Regions from separate parts of the Homo sapiens genome. Here region 2 is linked to region 1. Evidence: promoter capture Hi-C in 16 types of primary human blood cells and fetal thymus (Javierre and others, 2016). All regions are on one chromosome and are shown on one strand. The core of a region is centred on a gene start or on the middle of the fragment in contact, and the rest is flanking DNA. Distances in the headings are between cores, read along the strand shown. Region 1 holds the start of PRPH (peripherin). Region 2 holds the start of MCRS1 (microspherule protein 1).

Region 1 (4,757 bases), core at 25-2,524:
GGCAGTGGAGGTTCAAGATAAGTTAGGGGCTGCGCAGACCAAGGAAGGACCAGGCCTTCCCTGTCTGCCTCAGGAGGCATCTGGGTTACCCCCTTCTCCCCGCGCCCACCGATGCCACCTCTGGATACTGAGATCGGGGGTAGCGGTGGGGAGGCTGAACTCGGAGAGGGGCTCGGACTCACCTTGCGGAAGAGCACGAGGTTGTGCTCCGCGTCCTCCCGCTTGCGCGTCTCCTCCTCCAACCTGACGGGAAGAGCGTGCAGAGGCTGAACTGCGGGGTCGCCGCCCAGCTCGCACCCCAGACCGCACGCCCCCCAGGATCCGGTTAGAGGCTGTTCTGCTGCCCAGGACTCTAAATGGAGGGCTGAGGCTGTCTAATGGAATTGCCCCGCATTGTCTCTAACGGACTGGGAGCTGAAAAGGGGGTTTCCTCATTACTCAGGGGAGGCACAGATACCCACTTCTCCCACCTCCCCAAACACTCAGAGCAAAGGGGTAGCGGGGGGCACTTGGAGCCCGTGGGCAGGGATGCTGCCCGCACACACCTGGGTTGGTAAGGGGAGCCACACCCTTGGGCTGCTGATGGAGAGGGGAAGCGAGGGGAGGCAAGAGCAGCCGCCTCGACGGCCGCTTCGACCTCGCCTCGACGGCAGCGGCCCAGCCCTGCCCCCTGACCTCTGCTTGAGCGCCGCCAGGTCCTCCGCCAGCCCGTCGCGCTCCACCTGCACCCGGTCACGCTCGCGGCCCAACAGCTCCAGCTCTCGCCGCAGCTCGCGCAGCTCCTGCTGGCACAGCTGGTCGGCGCGCGCCGGCTCCTGGCCCCGGGCTTGGCTCAGCTCCCCGCGCAGGGCCGCGTTCTGCTGCTCCAGAAAGCGTACCTTCTCGATGAAGTTGGCGAAGCGGTCGTTGAGCTCCTGCAGCTCCTGCTTCTCGTTGCTGCGCGTGGCCAGGAACTCCTGGTTGAGGGCCTCGGCCATGGAGAAGTCGAGGCGCTCCGAGGGCAGGCGCAGGAGGGCGCCCGCTCCCGCTCGGGGGCTACGGAAGCTGCCCAGGCGCACCGAGGAGCTCGGGGACGCGGAGCCCAGCAGGCGGCTGCTGGAGAAGCGGGAGCTGGACGAGTAGGAGAAGGCCCCGGGGGATAGTGAGGGCGGTGGACCGAAGGTACGGCGGTATGAGGTGGAGCTGAAGCCGGCCCGGAGGCCCGACGGGTGGTGGCTCATTGCGGCCAAGGATGGGCAGTCACCGTTCGCAGAGCTAGGCCGGGGGCTGGGAAGGAGCCGCAGACCGCTGCGAGGCGGCTTTATAGCCCTGCGGTCTCAGGGGGGGCACGGGCAGCTCCTCCCACTGGCCTGATGGCCCGCTGGAGGGGGGTTGTATGGGGAGGGGGATGCCCCACCCCTGCGGAACAGCAGGAGCGCCTTCCCCTCCCTTCCCTGGTTGCAGGCCTCTACCCACTTGATTGCCCCCTGTTGCCGCTGGGGTGGGGGTCACTTCCTCCCAACAAGCACCCAAAGCTAGAACCTAGGGTAGGAAGGCCTGACTTGAACTAGAGTCCCTGAAAATTGCGAGGTAGAAGGACCTGAAGTTAAAGGGCAGGCTTCTGGCACAGGAGTAGGGAGGAGGCCAGCTGGAGGGAGAGTTGACCTGGCTTAGGCCCCATAGCTAGTGCCTTGACTTGCCCCCTGAAGGCCAGGCTCTATTTTCACCTGCTGTCAGCTACCCCTCCTTCACCACACCCAGAGAGGAATAGGAGACAGGGGCGCAGAGGCAGATCGGGCTGGGGAAGAGCTACTCTCCCTAATCCCCAGGGCCCTGTGAAGGGCTGGTGCCTGGCGCCAGCTCTGCTGCTAATGGGCTGACCAGCCCCCCTCCCCCTCCCCTGAAGACGGCCCAGCAGAGGTTGTCTGCTGATGTTTCAGCCTTAAAGACACAGCCCCCAAACCTAGACCTACCCCGCAACAAGCCCCAATGAGGTGGGTACATCATAGGGGGCTGAGGGTGGCTGGACCCAGCTCTGGATCCCACTCGGGAGGGTCTGCCCCATGCCACGGGCTGGGCTAAGTGGGCCTTTTGTATTCTGTCTTGGTTTACTGGATTCTCCCTCCCCCCAACCCCACACCAATTGCTGCTCAGTCATGGGCTTTACAGGAACCAGAGTGATTCCTGAGGTAGGAAGGGGAGGGGGCTGAGGGGCAACAGCGGCTGCCAAGGCTGAGAGATGGATGGACTGGCAGGAGCTGGTTTCCAGTATTGATGAGTTGCAGGTACCAGGGATGGGTGGGGCTGGATGGGGAAGAGATGGGGAAAGAGAAAGTGCCCATCCCCAGCAGTCTGAAAGAGAGAAGGCCCCAGAACAGGTCCACAAACCTGCGCACGCAAACAGATGCATACACACAGCTTTGTATATCTATGCGCACACACACTACATACACACACATACACACACAATCACACATCCCACCACACCCTCCCCTACTCCAGAGTTAGCGAGAAGGCTGATATCTGGCCTTTGTATGTCAAACAGCTTCCAGAATGCAAGCACAACCTGCCCAGGAGTGGACAGAGGCAGCTCGGATGGTCTGCAGGAGCCGGGTTGCTGAGGTCTGCTGGGTTTGCCAGGAACCATAGGGCTGGGGCTGCTGCTGCTGCTGGGGACTCCAGCGCTGTCCTGTGAGACAGGTCTGCCTCAGATGGGACCTGAGGACAAGAGAGTGCATCTGGGGAAGCAGGTTTCAGGTTCCTGCCTGGATATCTGGCTGGGGGTAAGGAGGGCGGCTCCCTGGCTGGCCAGCTCCTCAGTATTGCAGGGCAGCAGCCCCCTCCCCCCTTTGTGCGTCCTGTGAGATGGGCCAGGGCCAACGCCCTGCTCACGTCCCTACCGCCTTCGTCTCCTTTCCAGGCCCCTCCTTCCTTCCGGGCCATTAGTCTCTCCCTGCACAGCTGCCAGTTCCTTCTCCTTGATGGGTCTGGTTTGGTTGCCAGGGGAGTGGGAAGCGGGAGGAAGGGAGAGATGGGACAGGACGAATAAATGACAGCTTGGCCTCCCCTAACTCCTGGGAATTGGGAGGGGTAGGGTCCCACCCGGGATAGGGCCGGGAGGCTTGGTGGGTGTGAGGAGGGGCTAGGGAAGCCTTGGTGCTTCCTGCCGCAGTCCTGGGCACTGAGCCCCAGCTGCTGTTGGCCTGGAGCCCCATCTATCCCGGATTTGGCCCCACCCTCCAGGAGCAGGGAGCCAGCTCTGCATCAGGAGAGGCGGGCAAGGCCTGGGGAGGACCAGCTCAGGCCCTGTCTACAGGGCACTAGTGGGGGACCCAAGCCTCTGAGAGTAGAGGCTGCTGGGGCTGCAGCTGGGCCTGGGGAGTTCCAGATGGAGTTCCCGTCCTCACCCTGCTTAAGGGCTCCGCTGGCCACCTACATGCCTCGGAGGAGAAGGGACAGAGGGCTGCCACAGCAGGGCTCTGGAGCTGTGGATCAGGCCTGGGTGGGGAACTGCCAGGCAGAAGAGGCTCCTCCCCTAAAGCAGAAGGAGCAGGCCAGCAACTCCAGGCGGAGCAAAGGTAGGCAAAGAGTCTGGGTTAAGAGCCGGGCTCTGGCATCCAGCTGCCACACTTCCCATCTGATCCACCACTCTGTTGTAGAATTTAGGCTCGTCACTACGTCCCTTCATGTCCCTCAAGAAAAGGGAGATAACTAACTGTAGCTTCTACCTCATAGTGTTGTTGGGAGGACTAAAGGAATAAATAAATACATGTGAAGTGCTTAGGACACACATCTTAAAGCCTGAAAATGGAAGCTGGTTTTATTATTGCTATTATTATTAACCTCCAGAGTGATAATGTCAGCCCCAAGAGCAGTGAGAGTCTGGGCTTCTTTTGGACTGTGCCCCTGGTTGCTGAAAGTAGTGCTTGGACCCAAGGCGGAAGAAGCCAAGTCCTCCCTGGCCTCATCCTCCCCTGGTGGACCGGGACTCTGGGCAGATGGTGCAGGTTCATTCATGGCTGCTCACCTTAATTAGCTGTGTGCTTTGGGTTTTCTGAGTGACTTAACCTCTGTTCACCCCATTTTCTTTCTTTCTTTCTTTCTCTCTTTCTTTCTTTTTTCTTCCTTTTTTTTTTTTTGAGACATAGTCTCGCTCTGTCGCCCAGGCTGGAGTGCAGTGGCACGATCTCAGCTCACTGCAAGCTCCGCCTCCCGGGTTCACGCCATTCTCCTGCCTCAGCCTCCTGAGTAGCTGGGATGACTGGCGCCTGCTACCACGCCCGGCTAATTTTTTCATATTTTTGGTAGAGACGGTGCTTCACCATGTTAGCTAGGATGGTCTCGATCTCCTGACCGTGATCCACCTGTCTCGGCCTCCCAAAGTGCTGGGATTACAGGCATAAGCCACCGCGCCTGGCCACCCCATTTTCTTTATCCACAAATGGGAATGATAATAACAGTACTTACCTCATGGTGTTGGGAGGATTAAACGAGTTACCCTCTGTAAAGCACTTGTGCTTGGCACCTAGTACATGCTGTAGAAGTATTTGCCAGTATTCTCATCGCTCCTCCTCCTCCTGCCTCCCTTGGCTGCTCTGATGAAGGCTGGAAGAGAAACAACTATTGCATGTGTTCAGGGGTTTGCAGGGAAGGTGAGTAACGAAGTTTAGGTTACTGGCAAGAGTGCTATTTTTAAATTAAATTAAATTAAATTTTTTTTGAGAGAGAGTCTTGCTCTGTTGCCCAGGCTGGAGTGCAGTGGCATGATCTCAGCTCAC
Region 2 (4,778 bases), core at 1,535-4,034, 270 kb before region 1:
TCCTCTGTTCTCAACTCTTTCCCTCTTTTTATTGATCGCCCTGCTCCAGCCACACCGGGGTCCTTCCTGTTCCTCAAACTCACCAAACTCCTTCCTGCTTTGGAGCCAGAGCTATCCCCTCTGATGGGGTCGGTGTACCCCACCTTATTGTATGACTGGTTGCCTATCGACATCAAATCTCAGCTCAGTCATCACCTCTTCATAGAAGACCATCCTGAGAACTTTCATCTAGTATAGATACTATACTATATATACTAACTATAGCTAGTATAGTCCACCACGCTGTGTAAACAGAAAACACAATCTTGAGCAGGAAGCTGCCCTTTAGAAATCCCTGCATCCATACCACAAGGGTGCCTAGGTTTCTTTTTATCCAATAGTAGGGAGGATTGAGGACCAGAGGGGAAGTTTGAGTTTCCAGGTACCAAACAGGAGATGATGGTGACCACCACCTTTCCCTCGTGACACCTTGGGGGAAGGAATTACCTCAGGCAGCTGGAAGCCAAGAGTTTTCCTTTCTCCTCTTTCACTCAGGAAGTTGTGGCTCAGTGCAGTGGCTTACGCCTGTAATCCAGCACTTTGGGAGGCTGAGGCGGGTGGATTATTTGAGGCCAGGAGTTCGAGACGAGCCTGGCCAACATGGCGAAACCCCGTCTCTACTAAAAATACAAAAATAAGCCAGGCAGGTGGCAGGCACCTGTAATTTCAGCTACTTGTGAGGCTGAGGCAGGACAATCACTTGAACCCAGGAGGTGGAGGTTGCAGTGAGCCGAGATTGTGCCACTGTACTCCAGCCTGGGTGACAGAGCGAGACTCTGCCTCAAAATCAATCAATCAATAAAAAGAAGTTGTGTAGAACCTATTTTTTTTTTCATTGTAAAATATGGCCGGGCGCAGTGGCTCACACCTGTAATCCCAGCACTTTGGGAGGCTGAGGTGCGTGAATCATTTGAGGTCAGGAGTTTGAGACCATCCTGGTCAACATAGTGAAACCCCATCTCTACTAAAAACACAAAAATTATCCAGGCATGGTGGCGCACACCTGCAATCCCAGCTACTCAGGAGGCTGAGGCATGAGAATCGCTTGAACCCGGGAGGTGTAGGTTGCAGGAGCCGAGATCGCTCCACTGCACTCCAGCCTGGGTGACAGAGGAAGGCTCTGTCTCAAAAAAAATAAAACAAAATTTAAAAACCATGTATTAAAAAACTGGAAAATAATTAGAGAGAAGAATTACTACTACTACCACTTGGACATGTGTTAACATTCTGGTGCATTTCCTTCAACTGTCTTTTCCTTTGTATGTTTTTAATAGTTATCATGAATTCATATATATTTAATAACATTAATATTATTAATGTTCTGTGTAATCACTTTTTATAAAAATTATTTCAGGCCGGGTGCTGTGGCTCATGCCTGTAATCCCAGCACTTTGGGAGGCCGAGGCAGCCTGATCATGAGATCAGGAGTTCAAGACCAGCCTGGCCAACATGGTGAAAACCTGTCTCTACAAAAAAAAAAAAAAAAAAACTTAGCTGGGCATGGTGGCACGTGCCTGTAATCCTAGCTACTCGGGAGGCTGAGGCAGGAGAATTGCCTGAACCGAGACCCGGGGGCCGGAGGTTGCAGTGAGCCGAGATTGTGCCACTGCACTCCAGCCTGGGCTATGGAGCGGGACTCTGTCTCAAAAAAAAAAAATTTCATTGGTTTTCTGATATTTTCACAAGTTTACATAATATATTTAATCAAGTGCCTGTTAAAAAATAAAACACACACTCTTTCATGGGAGTTAAAATAAGTACATACTCATTAAACAAGTCCACAGAACAGTAAATGAGGTTGGTACTCTCGAAGCAGAGGGCCATAGTATACCGTCAGGGCCAAAAGGGCCAGTCTCTCATTTGACACTTGAATTCCCTAGCAATGTCCATGTTATGTGTTCTTGACACCTCTGATGGACAGCTTTGGAACTGAATCTTTCTTATTCTGAGCTGAAGTATGTCTCTCTATAGCTGCTAGACTTTAGTACCTCGCAAAGGAAGCATAAAACAGAATTCCTCTTTTAGACAACAGTCTTTCTAGTTTTCCGGAACATCTCTCACAGCCCCAAATTCCCAATTTTTCCGACAGGTTCGTTCTCCCACCCCAAGATTCCTTCCAAGGCACTCTCCTCTGAAGGTGCTTCCATTGGTTTTCTCTCTTACCTCCCGGCGACCACAAGTGGCCCCAGCCGTCCAGGTGGGGTCCGGCTGACGGGACCAAGTCGACACTACTCCTTCTCGCAGGGTCTCTTCCTTCTCAGTAAAGCGGCCCACGATCCTCCATCCGCTCCTCAGAGAGCCTCTCTGCCCTTTCTGTCCGCCACATCTCCCTGGCTACATTATCTCCCCGACTAGTGCCTAGCAGGCGGGCCTGATAGAAGTTTCTCTAAAGGCTCTGGAGGAGTCAAACAATGCATAAGGTCCTGTGCAACCCTCAGACTCCTATACCTCGTGGGAATTTGGAAGTCGAAATCCAGTCCGCGGTCCCGCCCCTCCCCGGGTCGCCTCAATTAGCCCCGCTCGGTCTCGCCCTAAGTCTCGCCTTTCCCTTTAACCAACCCCTCAAGCCGGGTTACCTCTCCGGTGCCTATAATCCTTAACGTTTCCCTATATGCTGTCCCAACTAGGAAAGCCTTTACTTTCCGCTATTGGTAAAATATTTACACTTTCCGTACCATGGCCACGCCCCCTTCACACACGTTGCCAAGACGAACCGGAAGAGATTGCCAGCCCCCTGGTTCGTTAACCGGAAGTAGACGTACCTCACGGAAGCCGGCTTTGGCCCTGCGGCTGCTACCGTCGCCGCGGAGAAATTGTTGGATCTGGCAGTCTAGGAATGGTGAGACCTCGCGGTTCGCCTCTGAGGGTTCTCAGAGGAGTTGGGGATGAAATGGAGTTTTGCAGAGTGCCGCCGGGGACGACCACCCCCCAAGTTTGGGGCCCCGCCCCAGTGGCGCCCCGAAAAGCTGCGCATGCGTGGGCCGGACCGGGTTAGAATCTGGCTCGAAGTGTTACGCATGCGCAAAGGCATGGAGACCGTGGGGTGAGAATGGGCTTGCGAGTTTACCCCCACCTCCCCAGCCACCAGCCTGTGGGTCTCAAACCAAGGCTACTTGGTGCTCTGCTTTGAGTTGCAGAGGTGACTTCATCAATGCTCCTACCCCGAGTTCTTGAGACAGACCTGGACCGATCCCCTACCTTGGGTGTGCACTCTTGGGAGAACGAGGGGCGGAGGGTCCGGTAAGGAAGGGGCACAGACCCTACCTCAGTTTGCCGGCAAGCTCGGGCCCCTTCGCCCTCTCCTCAGATGTCAAGATTCTTAGTCGTAGCCTATGGAGCGGAGAGCGACAGGCTCACCTGGGGACAGGGCTAGAACACTGAGCTAAGAGCCACCCTGGTTAGAAGTGGGGACTCACGAGAGGAGCGCCCCGAGAAAGTCCAGTACCTGGGTTCTCTAGGGGTTGTTGGGGCACAGCGTGGTTGATAATCACGCAGTTCCCAAACAGTGGTTTTTGGTTTCCACGAGATGGTATCTCATGGAAATACCACTTACTAAATCTTCAGTAAAAACCCCAAATGGAAAAGAAAAACAAAAAAAAAACGAGATGGACTGGTTGGAGTTTTGTCTCCCTTTCTTTTTTCCTGCTTTGGCCTGGGAGGGGAAGGCTGGTGCTGCTGAGCTGAGTGGACAGCTGAAGTAAAGAAAAATGTGGGCCAAAGAATCCCTTGTCTCTTGCTAGTTTATAGTCAAGGCGCTTAACCTAGGAGATACCAGTAGAATTAAAGGGTCTATGAACCCTCTAAAATAGTATGTGTTTGCACCCTTTTCTGCAGTCCATAGCTGTTATCATACTCTGAAAGGTGCCAGTGACCTTCACAAGACTGATGTCTAAGGCTATTATTGGCAGAGTGGGGCCTTATGCCTCTTTCCTGTCCTTATGTCTTCCCTAGCTTATGGGACCCTGGGGGACCTGAGCCAGTATAAGGAAGTGAGGCTGGCCAGTTGGAAATCTGAGCCTCAGGGAGCCTCATTTCTCCTTTGCAGAATCTCCTCTCAGCCTTTAAGCTCACCTGGTCAGAATCCTTGGATGAGCCTGTGGGACCGTTCCTCCTAGCCCGGTGGTTTGGAACCAGTGGCTTTGGGACTGTAAGAGGATGGACAAAGGTAGTATGAGGCCGGGACAGCTCCCCAAATGCTCGGGCGCCAAGCATCTGCTGATTCCACTCTGTGCCTGGCACGTGTGTCTTTCGGTCCTGGCTAGGCCTTGCCACCTCCCCCTGGGCCAGCACCACCCATGTACCTGTCGGCAGAGCCACAGTTGACTGACTTGCTGTTGAGCTGCTGCTCTTTAGCACGGCTGCATTTTGATGGCAGAGGGAGCAGTTATGCCCAGAGCCCAGCGTGTCGGCATCACCAGTCTGACCTGAGCACCATGTGCTGCACGACATGACACGTGGCACCGGGGGAACTGCCCAGCGTGGAAGGTCTGGGCCAGGTCTGAGCCCAGATGGGATCTGGATGGCCAAGGAACTCTACCTTAAAACCTCAAGTGTCAAGGAGGCAGGGGAGGGGCCAAGAGGGCTGGCAGGGGAAGGGGGCTGGGGAGGGGTCCCATTTGCAGAGGCTCTAGGATCTTAGGAGGCCCGAATCCACCATTTCTCTCTTGCTAGATTCTCAGGGGCTGCTAGATTCATCCCTGATGGCATCAGGCACTGCCAGCCGCTCAGAGGATGAGGAG

The links. Contacts are between HindIII fragments. The CHiCAGO score rates a contact against its expected background, and 5 or more counts as called.
Region 2: the fragment with the promoter of MCRS1 here is called in contact with the fragment with the promoter of PRPH in region 1 in 4 of 17 cell types (endothelial precursors, M2 macrophages, erythroblasts and 1 more); the score reaches 12.1 in endothelial precursors.

Annotation. Positions count from the first base shown.
Region 1 is chr12:49,291,664-49,296,420 of GRCh38, reverse strand. PRPH (peripherin) reads right to left here and starts at 1,274. Exons shown (of 9, transcript NM_006262.4): 1 at 676-1,274; 2 at 183-243. The coding sequence starts at 1,220. It overlaps TROAP-AS1 (TROAP and PRPH antisense RNA 1), which reads left to right. Exons shown (of 8, transcript NR_120449.1): 6 at 1-1,161; 7 at 1,886-1,973; 8 at 2,525-3,790. RefSeq lists enhancers at 342-1,258, 1,259-2,176, 2,256-3,018, 3,019-3,782. The HindIII fragment of the contact is 27,974 bases long and covers 1-4,757 here.
Region 2 is chr12:49,566,148-49,570,925 of GRCh38, reverse strand. It overlaps MCRS1 (microspherule protein 1), which reads left to right and starts at 2,784. Exons shown (of 15, transcript NM_006337.5): 1 at 2,784-2,878; 2 at 4,085-4,204; 3 at 4,711-4,778. The coding sequence starts at 4,195. RefSeq lists enhancers at 2,285-2,334, 2,685-3,488. The HindIII fragment of the contact is 9,561 bases long and covers 1-4,778 here.